Linked DNA regions of Homo sapiens: regions 1, 2 and 4 are each linked to region 3. The links are contacts of gene promoters, found by promoter capture Hi-C in human tissues and cell types (Jung and others, 2019). All regions are on one chromosome and are shown on one strand. Each heading gives the region's core, a stretch centred on a gene start or on the middle of the fragment in contact. The rest is flanking DNA. Distances are from core to core; before and after follow the strand shown.

The links. The method cuts DNA at HindIII sites, captures the fragments that hold promoters and counts their contacts. A contact is called where the count stands out against the background at its distance.
Region 1: a contact is called between a fragment that was not itself captured here and the fragment with the promoter of PDZRN3 in region 3, in 2 of the 25 tissues and cell types used here (bladder and mesenchymal stem cells).
Region 2: a contact is called between a fragment that was not itself captured here and the fragment with the promoter of PDZRN3 in region 3, in 2 of the 25 tissues and cell types used here (IMR-90 fibroblasts and aorta).
Region 4: a contact is called between a fragment that was not itself captured here and the fragment with the promoter of PDZRN3 in region 3, in 1 of the 25 tissues and cell types used here (aorta).

What each region holds. Positions count from the first base shown.
Region 1 is chr3:73,856,724-73,859,423 of GRCh38, reverse strand. The region is part of intron 2 of LINC02005 (long intergenic non-protein coding RNA 2005); the gene reads right to left. Among named protein-coding and RNA genes, the nearest start is that of LINC02005, 49 kb to the right of the region's middle. The HindIII fragment of the contact is 3,452 bases long and covers 1-2,700 here.
Region 2 is chr3:73,798,159-73,800,858 of GRCh38, reverse strand. No RefSeq gene overlaps it. Among named protein-coding and RNA genes, the nearest start is that of LINC02005, 9.7 kb to the left of the region's middle. The HindIII fragment of the contact is 9,206 bases long and covers 1-2,700 here.
Region 3 is chr3:73,623,518-73,626,217 of GRCh38, reverse strand. PDZRN3 (PDZ domain containing ring finger 3) reads left to right here and starts at 1,277. Exons shown (of 10, transcript NM_015009.3): 1 at 1,277-2,115. The coding sequence starts at 1,393. It overlaps PDZRN3-AS1 (PDZRN3 antisense RNA 1), which reads right to left and starts at 2,650. Exons shown (of 2, transcript NR_046681.1): 1 at 2,253-2,650; 2 at 1-806. The HindIII fragment of the contact is 5,146 bases long and covers 1-2,700 here.
Region 4 is chr3:73,767,881-73,770,580 of GRCh38, reverse strand. No RefSeq gene overlaps it. Among named protein-coding and RNA genes, the nearest start is that of LINC02005, 40 kb to the left of the region's middle. The HindIII fragment of the contact is 6,566 bases long and covers 1-2,700 here.

The DNA.
Region 1 (2,700 bases), core at 122-2,621, 230 kb before region 3:
GGGCAACATAGCAAGACCCTGTCTCTACAAAAAACACAAAAATTAGCCAGGCATGGTGGTGCAAGCCTGTAGTACCAGCTACTCTGGAGGCTGAGGTGGGAGGATCACTTGAACCCAGAAGGTTGAGGTTGCAGAGAGCTGAGATTGCACCATGGCACTCCAGCCTGGGTGCCAGAGTAAGACCCTGTCTCAAAATAAATAAAATAAAAGCAACAAAAAAAAAAAAATGCGCAAATGAAGAGCTTGGGCTTTAAGTCAGACATATCATAATAAATATTTGTCTCTCCTCTTTGCTGCCTATGAGATCTTTGGCATCTCAATGTTCCCAAACATCAATGTATTCAACTTTAAAATGGGAAAAAAAAATTGTACAGTAAGGATTACATGATAAAGCTTAAACACAAGCTCTAGAAATGGTAGCTATTATTTTATTTTTATAAATCATACCTGAAAGCTCTCAGATGAAATTTGAATGCTATAACTTCAGATTTACATTTTAAATATTGGTTCTGTCTCTTACTAGCCTTGTGTCCTTGAGTAATTAATCTCTTTAAGTCTTAGTTTTCTCATCGACAAATCTGAAAACACTACTATCCCCTTGCTATGGTCTGAAAGTTTGTGTCCCCACCCCCATCAAATTCACATGTTGATACCTAATCATTATTCAGAAGGAGGGACATCTGTTTTTTGTTTTTTAGGGAAAAGAAAAGAAACCTAATCATTGATGTGATGGTATTAGGAGGTGGGCCTGTGGGATGCAATTAGATCAGGAAAGGGATTAGCACCCTTTAAAGGAGGCCCCAAAGAGCTGCCTGACACTTTCTCCTATATGAGGACACAGTAAGAGAGTGCCCTCTATAAGGCAGGAAGTGGGCCCCCACCAGACACCAAATCTGCTGATGCCTTGATCTAGGACTTCCCAGACACCAGAATGGTTGGAAATAGGTTTCTCTTGTTTATAAGCCATCTAGTTTATAGTAATTTGTCAGAGCAGTCCAAATGGACTAAGACGTCTCTCAATAATAAATAAAATAATGTATTTAAAACACTTAGCACATTGATCCATTCAATCAATTTATATTGAAAACACAGACTCTAGAGTCAGACTACTTATATATTAAATTCCTGTTCACGTACCTTGTTCAAGGTACTTGAACTTTCTGTGCTTAATTCATAGATTATCCTGTGTACTGAATTTCCCTCAGAAACAGAGATTTTTGAGATCACTGCAGTGAAACCCACCATTGTAGTAAGGCAAGGTTCATCTCCTTCTCCCTTCCACAACGTCTCTGATGTACATCAGTTTGAACTCTAGGCCAACTTTCAAAAAACAAAGAAACTCCTACAGTTCTAAGTCTTTGGCTTTTCTCTGTGAATCACAGCTACCTTATTAGGTTTCTCCCCCTTTGTCCTCCTTCTTTTTCCTTTTTGTTCTATGCTTCTGCATGCATGTTTTAATCAGAGATTTTTAAGAGACTTATCCACAAAGTAGTCAAGAAAGAGAATTTTAGGACCAGTGATCTGATACCTCTTCCGTGACTGAAAATTATAAAATCGGAAGTATGTTAGGAAGAAAATATTTCCATGGTCTGTTAAGATATTCAGAAGCTTTTCACTAGAACAAGTTTGCATTATTTAACTTCTCCAGGAGCAGGCAAGAAAAATATCAAGAGTCTGCCTTTGGGGAGATGCCATTTCATGAGCGATGAAGCAGTAATGAATGGTAAAGATGGAATATCAAGGAATCATTTTTAAGGGAGAAATGCAGCTCTAAAGCTATTCGGTTCAAGAGACTGACATAGGATGTCCTTACTTTCAACTCTATTTTTTCCAACCACCTATCTGTCCATGCATATTCATTTAGTGACTACAGCAGGCAGTGTAGTATTGAAAAGAAATTACAGGCCATTCACGGTGGTTCATGCCTGTAATCCTAGCATTTTGGGAGGCCGAGGCGGGTGGATCACCTGAGGTCAGGAGTTCAAGACCAGCCTGGCCAACATGACAAAACCCTGTCTCTACTAAAAATACAAAAATTAGCCAGGCATGGTGGCCGGCGCCTATAATCCCAGCTACTCAGGAGGCTGAAGCAGGAGAATCGCTTGAACCCAGGGGGGTGGAGGTTGTAGTGAGCCAAGATCATGCCACTTCACTCCAGCCTGGGTGAAAATGAGAAACTCCATCAAGAAAGAAAGAAAGGAAGGAAGGAAGGAAGGAAGGAAGGAAGGAAGGAAGGAAGGAAGGAAGGAAGGAGAAAGGAGGGAGGGAGGAAGAGAGAGAGAGAGAAAGAAAGAAAGAAGGAAAGAAAGAAAGAAAGAAAGAAAGAAAGAAAGAAAGAAAGAAAAGAGAGAAAGAAAGAAAGAAAGAAAGAAAGAAAGAAAGAAAGAAAGAAAGAAAGAAAGAAAGAAAAGAAAGAAAGAAAGATAGATTACAGCAAGTGCATTGAAGTTGTGTCCAGAGCAAGCACAATGAGACAGCCCAGGAACCTGAAGCTAGAGTCAATATTGAGTATGCTGGGACAATGACAGTAAAAAGGAACTGAAGGGAAATTATACACAGAGCATACTTCAGACCACCTCAGTCTGATGGAGGACAAGGATAATGTCCTATTACAAATTTGCAAAATAAACTTAGAGGCATGATTCAGTAAAGATGTGAGATTTCACCTATTCAAGCACATGATCTGAATTTGCATCTGAT
Region 2 (2,700 bases), core at 118-2,617, 170 kb before region 3:
CAGAGGTAAAGTAGGCCAAGGATACATGAAATGCTAAAAGAAAAATGAATGTTAGAAGGCAAAAGAAGGGCAAGAGAGTATAATTCAGAGGGCAATCCTTATTTGTGCTTATAGAATGTCCCATATGACCTCTCTGTAAGGCTATAATAGGCCCAGGAATCTGTACTTTGAATGTTTCTCCAGTTGGTCTAATTCACACCTCCTACAACTACATGAATGGTGATTCATCACAGCTCAAGATTTGCTGAAGTGTTTGCATCCATCGACAGCATGCACAGGACTACTGCTGGACTTCGGTTTTAGTAAAGAAGGTATGGAGGGTCATCAGCAAAAAAGTAGAGAAAATTGTTTCAGGGCTGCTGGAGACAGAAGGCTAACAAAATCTTTGTAGCTTCTGGCTGATAGAGGCTGATAAGCCATAGACTGGTGGTCTCACTATGGAGGGGGTAAAGGGAAGAAGAATGTAACACAGAGAAGCAAGATTTAATAATTAAAAGCATATAAAGCATGAAGACAGCTGTTTATACAAAGCAAATATTAAAAATGGTTATGGGGTCTGGGTGCAGTGGCTCATGCCTGTAATCTCAGCACTTTGGGAGGCTGAGGCGGGTGGATCACCTGAGGTCAGGAGTTCGAGACCAGCCTGGCAAACATGGCGAAACCCCGTCTCTACTAAAAATACAAAAAGTAGCTGGGCATGGTGGCACATGACTGTAATCCTAGCTACTCAAGAGGCTGAGGCAGGAGAACTTCTTGAACCTGGGAGGCAGAGGTTGCAGTAAGCCGGGATCGCACCACTGCACTCCAGCCTGGGCAACAGAGCGAGACTCCAGCTCAAAAAAAAAAAAAAAAAAAAAAGTTATAGGGGCTAATGAGTTCCAGATTATTTCTAATTCGGCCTGTCCTAAGAAACTGTGGTAGACTGTGGACCGCATAAACCATGACTTCTGGCGTTCCAACTTTGGGTTACTCTGAAATTAGTCATATGATTTGATTTTATCATGAGACACATCACACGAGCAGAGACTCAATAAGCACTTGTATATTAAGGATTATCCTGTCGGAATTCTCCCTCTTGCAAGGCTAACTTGAGACTGCCATGCTACTAGGAAGTTCAAGTTCACCACATGGAGATGAAATAAAATATTGTGATAAACATCCCCTGCTGATCACAGCCTCCAGTGATCCGTCAACTACACATATGATCCCAAGTCACATGTGTGACCCCAAGCAAGATCAGCAGAACAATCATTCAGCCAACCCACAGAACCCTGAAAAAATATAAATCATTATAGTTTAAACCACAGGTTCTGGGGTAGCTTGTTATGCTGCTATTGATAATTAAAACAAACTGGAATATTTTCATCTAGATGACAATCTACTCAATTGTTGAATCCTTTGTGTTTCCCTCTTTGCCCTGGTTAGTAAGATTCTCAGAGCTAAGTTGTATGTTCATTACTGTGTCTTTCTTCAACCAGGAATTCTCATCAGAATTGGTCCATTTCTCTTTCAGATTTTTGTCTTTTATATTAGTTGGTTTGGGTCTTACTATACCTCTGGTTTTCCTTTAAACTGACTAAAATTATTTGGAAAGTAGTCAGCATACCGGTAAAATAATAAATAAAGGTTAGTGGTAGATGAGTAAAAGAATAATGATTGCTATAGGGAAAATAATAGTAATTATTAATATGTGAATACAACAAAATGTTAATATATTTTTAAGCCAGGCCCTATTCTAAAATATTTTCATGCCTCCTATTATTTAATTCACCCAGCGATTATGAACAAGTACTGCTATCTCCCATTTTACAGGTAAAGAAAGTGAGGTACAAACTTGTCGTGGCTTTCCCCAAAGTCTCATAGCTAGTAAGTGGCAGTGCCAGGGCACAATTCAGGCCTGCCCAATGTCAGAGCCCACACTAATGACCATTATGGAACATTTCTTCACATGCCTTTTCTATTGTGTTTAGCCTATTTTGCTGTTGTATCAAAATTTACAAGACAAGGAATTATCTCCTGAGAACTTTTAAGTGTAAAACTTGTCATCAGGTTATTTAGTTCTATAAAGAAAAGATTAGAAAGTTGGAAATGGAGCAGCTGTTCCTAAATCGGGCAAACATTGCATTCAAAGAAAATTAATTTTCTCCACTTTCAAAAAAGAAATTCAAGCCCTAGTTTCTGATGCCACAATCATTGCAGTTAACAAAGCCATTTTAATAACCTCATTTTGTCCTTTGATAGATGGCTGTTCTTTCAAATGTGTATTCTCAGAGAAACTAGTGCTTTTGCAAGACTATCTGAAATGCTCAGAGAAAAGTAAACTACTCTGTAAATAAAGGGCGTTATTGTCTGCAGGTGATCCTCAAACTGTACAACCAACATATTGAATTTAGCTTTTATGCTTTTATTTTTAAATGAGTACAAATTGGAAAGCAAGAGTACTGATTCTAATGATTGAGTGTGTTGAAAATTAATGAAAACCATAAGTTTGAAAGAAGTTATTAGGCATGCCAAATGTGAACTACTTCTAACCCCAGAAGGATTAATTTTACTCTTAGGTGGTCAATTAAGAAGGAAAGGAACAAAAGTTTAAAATGTGTGTTATGGAGCTAGGTCATTGAATTTTGTATCAAAAAGGTAAAATATAAATCAGAAATGTATAATTTTTAGTTTTTACATTATGAGCAGGAAGTCTGCAAT
Region 3 (2,700 bases), core at 28-2,527:
ATGAACTTTACACCCAGTTTGGAATTCCAAAAATATTCCTCCATTGCTCAGGACTGTTGCTGAATCCTACCCAGCCAGGTTTGCTGTACTGCAGGGAATGAATGTCCAGATCTATGGATCGCCAGGGTTTTCCAATCAAGTGGGAATCCAAGGACCAGCATGGACTAGCAGCATTGGCATCACTTGGAAGTGCTTTCAGTATGGAGATTCTCAGAACCCGCCCCAGACCCACTGTATCAGAACCGCAACCACATTAAAATGTGAGAAACACTGACCTACAGGACCCTACAGGGCACTTTTGTTTTGTTTTGTTTTCTGTTTTGTTTTTATCCTTCTTCTAGCCTGAGTTTCCTCAATGGAAAGATGACAGAGTGTACACACAAAACAAACCAAAACTGAAGGAGGGCAGTTGTTGACATGATCATGGGGGTGATGAGTCTTCTCCCAGTTCTAACTTCTGCAGTCAGCATCGCTTCTTTTGTAATCACGGGAAAATAATTTTCAAATGGAGCTAACCCTCTCACAACATTGTACTAATGATCTTTAAAGCGACGGATTTAGAAGCGCTCAGCACCACGCTTGCCACACTGCAGGGCAGACACTTCAGAGGTGTTAGGTGAAGTGGATGGAGCCAGCACGCTGGCCTCTCCCACTCCGACAGCTGGCGAGCAGCTCTTGTCCACCAAAACTTCCCCGGGTAGATTCACCCACCGGTCCTGGAAACCTGCTAAATCCTGAAGGTTCACAGAACCTCTGGTCAGAACTGAAGTTGCAGCCGGAGCTTCCCGCAGGCTCTGTAACTTTCCCTGGAATGAAATAAATAAATAAAGACCGTAAGTGCTGAGATAGCGGGCCCCAAGATATTTTTAGTCCTCTGCAATCAGCCACTAGAGGAAGGGGGAGGGAGAAGGGAGTAAAAAAGTTTTGATCCGTTCGGGAAGGGGCTCGAAGAGAACCCTTGGGAGAAAGCAGTAGCCTCAGCTCCAAACTCAGCGAGCTTTTCTCGGCTGGCGTTTTGTCTCCTATAGCGTAGACTGTAAGAGAACAGAAAGGAGTTTCCCGAGAAGATTCAGGCTGGCGTCCTGGGCTGGCCCGTCCCTTCTGGCGAGCCTCAGTGTCCTCCCACGCGCTTCTGCCTTCCAGCCTCCTCCCTTTTTCGGGGGGCTGGCGGGAGGCATCCAAGGCACGATGTATGTGCGCTCGCGCTCGCGCAAATACGGCCGGAGGAGTCCTGTTCCTCGGGCATTTTCCGAGGAAGTCTGGATCAATTAGGCTCAGTCCGGGGAGAGCCAGCGAGCGCGCGGGCGGCGTAGCCGGCCTGTCTGGGCCGCCTCGTGGGGAGGGAGGGGGCGCCCGGCCGCCCGGCGGCGACCCCGGGGCCTGGCCGCCACCATGGGCTTCGAGCTGGACCGCTTCGACGGCGACGTGGACCCGGACCTGAAGTGCGCGCTGTGCCACAAGGTCCTGGAGGACCCGCTGACCACGCCGTGCGGCCACGTCTTCTGCGCCGGCTGCGTGCTGCCCTGGGTGGTGCAGGAGGGCAGCTGCCCGGCGCGCTGCCGCGGTCGCCTGTCGGCCAAAGAGCTCAACCACGTCCTGCCGCTCAAGCGCCTTATCCTCAAGCTGGACATCAAGTGCGCGTACGCGACGCGCGGCTGCGGCCGGGTGGTCAAGCTGCAGCAGCTGCCGGAGCACCTCGAGCGCTGCGACTTCGCGCCCGCGCGCTGTCGCCACGCGGGTTGCGGCCAGGTGCTGCTGCGGCGCGACGTGGAGGCGCACATGCGCGACGCCTGCGACGCGCGGCCAGTGGGCCGCTGCCAGGAGGGCTGCGGGCTACCCTTGACGCACGGCGAGCAGCGCGCGGGCGGCCACTGCTGCGCGCGAGCGCTGCGGGCGCACAACGGCGCGCTCCAGGCCCGCCTGGGCGCGCTGCACAAGGCGCTCAAGAAGGAGGCGCTGCGCGCTGGGAAGCGCGAGAAGTCGCTGGTGGCCCAGCTGGCCGCGGCGCAGCTTGAGCTGCAGATGACCGCGCTGCGCTACCAGAAGAAATTCACCGAATACAGCGCGCGCCTCGACTCGCTCAGCCGCTGCGTGGCCGCGCCGCCCGGCGGCAAGGTAGGCGCCTGCTGCCCGCCCCGACCTCCAGCCAGGATCCCTGGGGACCCAGGGCCCCGCCCCATCCCTTTGGGTACAGGGATGCCCCGAGCTTCCCGGGAACATCCTTGCTTCCTCCCTCTTCTTCCACTGCTTACCAGCTGTATCACTACTTGCAGGTCGCTGAACCTGCCTGAGGTGGAACACTGTGGTCCTTTATAGTCTAGACGTAACCGGTAAAGTATAGCTGTACAGCTTCAGGGATTCTGGAAGGACGAAAAAGAATTCACAAGCAAGTGTAGGATAAGAATGAAGAATGCAGCTCCAGAGTCAAAACTGCGTTCAAAGGCTTTGCTGCTCAGACCAGCTAGGGGATCTCGGGCAAGTTGCTTACCCTCTAGAGGTCAGAAACCTATAGACTGACACTTAGGAGAGGAGAGATGGACACATTGGGTGAATTGTATCCGTGCATCCTCTAGGATTCCAGAAAAAAAAATAAAGGGAACCCACAGCCAGTGTAGATTAAGTTAAGAAGGATATCAGAAGAGAGGCCTCTGGGGTAAAAGCTGGATGCAAGCGTGGGCTTTGCAGCCAACTAGCTGGCTG
Region 4 (2,700 bases), core at 33-2,532, 140 kb before region 3:
TCAGTATAGAAAGGTAATCAAATGCTGAGTGGCCAAGATGAATTGCAAAAGTTAAACAAACCATGTTGTAATCTCTAGTTTACTTGTCTGCTTTCCTCAGTAGACAGCAATTATTCATGAGACAAGGAACCATATCTAATTTGGTACCATTTCGTCTTTGCACTCAGCACAATGACTGACACAGATCAGGCCCTGAGTAAATATTGTTAAACAAATGAATCACTAATATAATAGTTATAAAATATTCAGCATAGTACCTGGCATACAAAAAAGGTTCATTAATGATATACAGTATATATAAGATGAAGCAATGCATTCTCTGTAGTCAGGGAACATTTCTCCTTCTATTTTGTGTCCCTAGCACCATATCAGACAGTATGTATTCAACAATGTTTGTTGAATGAATAGTTGAATCAAAGAATGAGTGAGTATGCATCATTGTAATTAATCCCTAGTAGGGTATATCCAAAGAACTGCTTAGATCGAAGACTGATGAATGCTTGAAGGTTGAGCAATGACCCATTGAGGCAGCTGGATCCTGCAGGAAGGGGAACCCTGGGAGTGGAGAAGTTTGATGATGGGATGGGCTTCCTACCAACTGTCACTACAAGTCCACTGAAGCCCATATCTGCATATATAATCTATATATGAACCAGACATAATACAAATGCTTCTTTTCTCTTGTTCATCTACTTCTGAAGGTTCATATTGCTTCTCTTACTCCCAGTACCCTACCCATGTAGAAACAGAGGAATATTCAATGTGATTCTTACTATAAAATCACTAGACGAAGTGTAGCTCCTTCTGAAGAAAGCCCAACTAATAGTATGTCAAAATCCCATGTCCCATTTTGCTTTTTGAAAACTCATGGCTGAGCAAGATGGGAGCATGACTTCTAATTTCTGACAGATACTATTAATGTATCCCAGTTTGTTGTAACTGTAGCTCTCTTAAAAATTTCTTTGGAAGCCATCATTCTCAGCAAACTAACACAGGAACAGAAAACCAAACACCACATGTTCTCACTTATAAGTGAGAGCTGAACAATGAAAACACATGGACACACTGAGGGGAACAACACATACCGGGACCTGTAGGCAGCGGGGTGAGGGAAGGGAGAGCATCAGGACAAATAGCTAATGCATGTGGGGCTTAATACCTAGGTGACGGGTTGATAGGTGCAGCAAACCACCATGGCACATGTTTACCTACGTAACAAACCGCCACGTTCTGCACATGTATCCCAGAACTTAAAGTAAAATTTAAAAATTAAAAAGACTTCTTTAAATGAGGAGTATCTGACTCAGTGCAATCACAAAATCCCAAAGTTTGGCCCAACTGCGTGTCTTCAGGTGCACCCTTCAACACAAATCTAAAAATAGATTTGATCCAGACAGGAAGGAACTCTACAGATTGTATCAGGCTCCATGATTATATGTAGTCCCATCAGAATACAGCATAATGCAATCATTTGTCAGGAGATAGAACGTGAATCAGAGGAAAGCCAACTAAAAATGTTATCAGATTGTTTCAGCAGGCAAGCTAGGCTAAATGAGGAGAAGGAGTTGAAAAACTCCAGATGGTTGGATTTCAAAAATTTCAAAAAAGCAAATTTTGAAGCATGATAATGTTTTCTTTTTCAAATTTAAAATAATTTTGGAACTATTTTTAATGCGTAAGTTTAAGTAATGGTAAATTAAAAGGCTCGGTTAACTATGATTGCCCAGTTTCTGGAATTTTTAACATTCTGAAATACCAGTTAACTGTGACTGATCACCAGAAGATGTCAGCATTACCTCCACCATTTTAATCATCTGCCAACTCAGAGGCTATCAACATTTGAAAGTTAACAATCACAAATTGCATAGCAGCTGCCCAATTTGTTGGCTGTTGTAACCTTTCTTTTATGATGCAGTTCTTCTCTTTTAGAAGAGATCCATTTAGCCAATATACCCTTTAAGTCTTTGCACAATACTAAAGCTGTATTAGCAGTGTGCCAGCTTCCCTCTTTTTATTTCTTTCTATTGGCTTTTATACGAGCAAATCTTTGCATGTCTAATTGTATGGAGACAATTAGCTGTTCTATGAAATGTTGTCTCCTCCTATCTTGCATGTGCAACCACTTACATACAAATGTACTCACAGGTACCAAAGCACTGCCCATGGGAACAGAAAGGTCAGAGGATTTATTTTAAACAGATTGTCATTCACATCCCAATTCTATTACTGAACTTCACTGAGCCACGTTCGGTTGTTATTCCATTTCATTTTGGTTTGGCTTGTTTTGGTATACAAAGATGAAATTACTAGAGTTAGTAATATCTGCCCAGCAGGATTATTGCCGTAAGTATATACACTAGTTGGATTCAGTAAATATTTCCTGAGCCCCTACTATGTGCCAAGCATTGTGTCAAGCACAGAGAATCAGTGCCTGAAGAAGGACACAGTCTAGAGCTGTGCTTTCCAATAGAGTATTTACTAGCCACATGCAGCCATTTGAATTTAAATTAATTAAAATTTAAATTAAAAATTCAGTTCCTCAGGTGCACTGTCACATTTCAAGTGCTTGATAGCCATAGGTGAGTAGTGGCTATGACTGTACAGATTTGGAACATTTGGATATGTAGATACAGAACATTTCCATTATTGCAGAAAGTCCTATTGGATAGCACTGATCTAAAAGCGAAATGGACTCAGGAG